Linked DNA regions of Homo sapiens: region 1 is linked to region 2. The links are contacts of gene promoters, found by promoter capture Hi-C in human tissues and cell types (Jung and others, 2019). All regions are on one chromosome and are shown on one strand. Each heading gives the region's core, a stretch centred on a gene start or on the middle of the fragment in contact. The rest is flanking DNA. Distances are from core to core; before and after follow the strand shown. Region 1 overlaps MAGOHB (mago homolog B, exon junction complex subunit). Region 2 holds the start of KLRC1 (killer cell lectin like receptor C1).

Region 1 (2,700 bases), core at 152-2,651, 150 kb before region 2:
AGAAATTCCTTCAACAACCCCTGGAAGGAAGAAACATTTAATTTCACTTTTGTATATCCCTGAGGATTGTACTTTGTATCACCTTCTTTGAATAGAAGAAAATGTGGAGAAATCTAACACATGCTGACACTCTGTAGGAGTAACTTAAGTCTTCTGCTTAAAGAAGCATTATTTAGAAAAGCAAAGGTAATAGTTAACAGTATTTATTTTAAGCATCGTATCACTTTTAAAAAGTAAATTTAGGCCTCAGTTTGTTTTATGCAGATACACATATGTACTAAAAAGCAAACCACAGCAGCTAACCTTTTATATCATTTAGACTCAGGGAGAGCCTAGTATTTTATCTATTCACTTAAGGATGTGTTCATGGGTTTTGGTTAGTGGGGAGGAGTAGGCATGCTTCAGAAATTGCCTTTTGTATCAAGTCAAAGGTTTTATGGCTGTTAGAGCATCTTAGCTAATTCTCCATTCTGTGTGTGTCATAAACTGCATAATTAGGCCTCTGATTAAATAAATAGCTAGGATTGTCTTCAATAGTGTCTGTTAACTTGAAGATTCATTACAGATATAGCTTTTTAATTATTGGTTTTAGGCCTGCAGATAAACAATATAGGGAAAAATCTATACAGTAATTACAGCACACTAGGAACATCTACATTAGGTTGGTTTTTTTTTTTTTTTTTTACTAGTTCTTAATTTTAGTTATTTTGTGGAGTATTAGTTTTGAAGTCTTACCATCTTGGGATCAAATATAAGTACCATCATTATTAGTGGTTATAAATATCAACAAGTATTTTCTTCTGCTCTATGAGTTTTGGATTACACATTTGTAAAATAGGTTAGTAAGGTTATTTTCAAGATTACAGAGAGTACAAAGTCCCTACCACTAGGGCCTGACATACAGTAGGTGCTAAAGTGGTGGTGGTTATTAATATTACACATTTTATTTGTAGAATCTTCCAGAAAGAAAAAATGTGTATTTATCATATTAAAAATGGTCTTATACTCCAATCATTTTTACAACATGTGCTTCAAAGTGATGTCTTTAGTTTTTACTGACATTGTAAGAAATATTTCTTTGTCATTTTGTTTCATAGTGTCTTCTTTATGTCTCTGGAAAGCAATTCTTTGTTGGTCCTAAACTTGGGGGTAGTGCGCGTGAGCAGTCTTTATTTTAAGGATATAGTTTATATCTAAGAAACCATGTTTCTTTCCCCCTCGCCCCCCACTCCCTCTGTTGGCTGCTAGAAAACTTGCAACTAAAATTGGGATCTGCTTGTAGCAAGAATACAGATACCTCTGGGATAGATTTTTATATTAACTACATTTTTCTGCTATATTTTTTAGGAGCTTGAAATTGTAATTGGAGATGAGCACATATCTTTTACCACATCAAAAATAGGTTCTCTTATTGATGTAAATCAGTCAAAGTAAGTATGTTAAAGCATTTTGGCGAAGTTTTCATTATTACAGAGGCTCATTTTAGAACTATAGTCAGTTTGCTAGCCAAGATAATTTCAGTGGCATCCTATCAGTTTATTATGCAGATGTAATCCTGATTTTTATGTCATTAAAGGCTTATTATCTTGTCTCTCAGTAGAAGTTAGCAGAGTATTTCATTGATTGTCCAAAAACTTTTAATCCAACAGCTGTATATAATAATGCCCAAGTTGTATTAGCTACTTTGTATAAAAATGTGGATACAGTATCAGCAAATCCAAAGGAAAGAAATCCTTATTGGATTATGTCAGCCTCATTAGGCCTATATCATCTCACTGTCCTTCTTGGGCTCAATACTTGGGAAAAAGATGGAAAAAATCCATTATGGCCTAAGTATGCTTTAGCTATCGATGTCTTCCCAAGATCTGTCTCTCCTCTGCCCCAGGGTTTTGTAGCACATCCCATTTTCTTGGTCTGATCCTAGCCACTTATTTTTATTTGTGCCCATTCCCCTCAAAGTGTCCCCATAGTGCTCTTACTTTTTTCTGTCACCCTGAATTGTAATAACCTATTTGTCTGCTTTACTGGTTTGAATGTAAGCTCCTTGAGAACCTTGCTGTATCCACAGAGTTAGCATAGTGCCCTGCACATAATAGATGCTTTCAATAAATATTTGTTAGTGGAAAGGAGAAAGGAATGAATGCATGATAACTATTGGACGCAAAATCTGTGTTCACAAAGACCATCCAAATGCTTTTAAACTATCAAATTTCTTTTCCTACATTTGGTAAGGGTGTGGCATTGATACCCTACTGGGATTATAAATTGGTAATGGTTTTTGGAAAGCAGTTTGGTAATATGCATCAAAAACTGTTGACATTTTTCATTCACCTTTGGCCTAGTAATTTCATTTCTGAGCATCTCTTCTATGGAACTATTCCTAAATATTGGAAAAGCTTTATTATGCATGAAGATGCTCATTGAAGTATTATTTATAATAGGAAATTAACCCCAGTGTCTAACAAGGAGAGAATTATTAAATTAATTAAAAATTACTAGGGAATTTTTTTTTTTTAATGCTGTGGGGAAAGTAATGTAAAAAAGGGCACAAGGAATAATTTTAGTTATTAAAAAATAGAGAAACATCAAAATGTTTATAGTTATTCTATGAAATGGTAGCATTACAGTATTATTTTTTTCTGCTTTATTAGACATTTTTATGATGTGGTTATTACAATCATAAGGATATGAACTCTTTAA
Region 2 (2,700 bases), core at 199-2,698:
TCACAGTCCACAGCTGAGAAGGGTGAAGGTCAAGATTCAAGGCTGTTTCAGAAACTACCGTGGAACTGAAGTCAGCAAGCCTGTACTGCTGACAAAGATGATTGAGTCTCACAGCAATTTCCTGTGATTAACTCAGGTCACAGTTGAGAGGAGTTTGAGTGGAGATTCAGGGCCATTTTAGTATCTTCTGTAGGACAGAGGTCAGCAAGCATGCCCCAGAGGTACAGATGTATATGTCTCCCAGGAAGTCTCTGTGGGTGAAGGACTGATCTCAAGTTGTGGCTGACACTAGTTAAAGCCAAGTTAGAGGGCTGTTTCAGGGTCTACATTGAGACTACAGTTGATATGCCTACCTCCTGAGACACTAGTGTGTGAGTCTCCTCCTGGGCCCCTGGGCAAATGGTTTTGGCAGCATGACCAAGGCCTAAATGGGGCTGAAGGCAAGCACAGGAGGATGGGTCCCTTTTCAGGTCTGGAGATGGAATCACTGTTGGTAAGTCTGCCACTTGGATGCAAATCTATTCCCTAAAACAACCTTCCTAGGTCTTGGGTTCCACTGGCATTTTACAAACTCCTACTTGAATTCCAAACTCCCTCAAAGGAACTTTTGTCTGTGGATGGCTGAAAAATTATTGTTGCTGTGGGGGCATATGTGTGGGGGACCACCTATTCTGCCAATTTACTGACTTTCCTCCTAGTAAGATTTTAAAATTACTTTTTCCCCATACATAGTTTGACTTCAGTTTTTGTCATTTACAACTAAATATTTCTATGAAAGTCGACATAATTTGTTATGGCGGAGGATGAATAAATGAAGAATGTAATGAATAGCTATTTAATATTTCAATTTCTGGTATGCTAATATATTTCAAAATTGATTAATATTTTACCTATCCAAGATATTTTTATCAAGGGTAATCTGAAGATTAAATAATCTATTTTTAAAAATTAAGTGCAAAAATTTAAGAACTAAGAGAAGTTAATAATATAACTTTGGCAATGATGCTTTTTGTGCCAGCTACAATCAATTGAGTAATTACTGCAGTAATTTTTCAGAATAATTAAGGAAAAAATCAGTAGATATCAGTTGATAATATTACTATGAGTTTTAGAATGTTTTCTATTATAATGGAAGTGACATAATAAAATAATATAAAGAAAAGAAGTATGCAATGTTAAGATTTAGCAACCTAGTCTAAAAGGCACTCTTAACAAGGTGAGGGTTGACAATGTTCGTGATCAAGACAGAAAAAAAAAAAATTCTCATAGGCACTTGAAAAATGAACCAACTAAATGACACACTTTCAAAGTCAACCTTGTACTTTTAATAGACCAAGTATCCTATATTTTGGAGGTGTGTGATGAGATAAAACTGATTTCACAATAGCCCATGTGTAGAATTTCCTGTTCAAACCTTAGTAACACGTTGATGAGAAATCTACTTTTTCCACTCTTGACTCACTCTGAGCCTTCACAGGGCAGTCTGCGAAGATTGCAGGCATTGTTTGTTCTTGTCTTGGATTTATGCCTTTAAATTTCACCTTTTATTACACAGCTATAGCAGGCCTTTTTATGAGACTAACCTGGCCTCTCCACTAAAGGATGTGTGACTTTCTGGGGACAGAAGGTATGTATTGCTACTCTCCAACTCTCTACTAGCCTACCTCATTTAGTGGGTGATTTCAAGTGCTCAATATGATACAAAGGAGGTATAATTAATATACAATAAAATCAAAGTAGAATATTGCTGTCTTCATTTGAATAACTCAGGGTAAAAACCTAAAATATGAAATATGTTGAAGGATTTCTTAAAGTTTTCAAATTATTGTTTGTGGAAATCTAGTGGGTTTGTTGATCAATATCGTTTAAGGGAAAGCTATTAACATCACAATAATGAACAATTAATTTTGTATTTTGTAATCAGTACATCATGTATCTTTGAATAATAATTTATATTTAGCTTAGCCATTAAAGATTATTAAAATAAATCAATCAATTGATGAAAGCCAAATACAATTCCTCAGACACGTAGATTAGAGAAAAGCAGTTTTTATTTTTAATAAAAATCAGAATGAGGTAGATTACATAAAATGCTAAAGGTATTACAAAGCAATAAAAATACTTTTTAAAAATTGATCAAAATATTGCAAAAAAAGATGTAGCGCATGGACATAGGAGACTTATCTGAAGATTTATTTTCCATGCTTTAACTGACATGAATCAGAAACAGTAACATAACAATTGTGACTAAAATAATAATTAAAGTAGCTAATGCTTATTGAGAACTTTAAGTGCCAGGTTGAGTGGTAAATGTTTTACATGCAACGTTTTATATGTTCTTATGCCCATTTTAGATTAACAAACTGGGTTATTAAAAATAGAATAACTTTTTAAAGGTCGCACATTATAAGTGTCAAAGCTAGAATTAATTCTAGATCTCACTGACTCCAGAGCCCATTGACTAAATGATTTAATTACATTATCTGAAATTTTACAAGTACTTATACAACTAAAGTGGCCTTTACTCACTTTGACAACCATAAAATCATTCTATAAGTTTAAATGAAATGTGCTTTAACATGAATTACCTATACTTTTATTTATCATTTTTTGGTTCATAATTTAGCCAGGAAATAAATTACCAATTACTAATTAAATTACCAATACTTCTGTAAGTATTAACAATTTATGTAGTGTTCC

The links. Contacts are between HindIII fragments. The study calls those that stand out against the background at their distance.
Region 1: a contact is called between a fragment that was not itself captured here and the fragment with the promoter of KLRC1 in region 2, in 2 of the 25 tissues and cell types used here (adrenal gland and hippocampus).

What each region holds. Positions count from the first base shown.
Region 1 is chr12:10,606,584-10,609,283 of GRCh38, reverse strand. It overlaps MAGOHB (mago homolog B, exon junction complex subunit), which reads left to right. Exons shown (of 5, transcript NM_018048.5): 4 at 1,348-1,430. Among named protein-coding and RNA genes, the nearest start is that of MAGOHB, 5.7 kb to the left of the region's middle. The HindIII fragment of the contact is 6,845 bases long and covers 1-2,700 here.
Region 2 is chr12:10,452,125-10,454,824 of GRCh38, reverse strand. KLRC1 (killer cell lectin like receptor C1) reads left to right here and starts at 1,448. Exons shown (of 7, transcript NM_002259.5): 1 at 1,448-1,627. The HindIII fragment of the contact is 6,428 bases long and covers 1-2,700 here.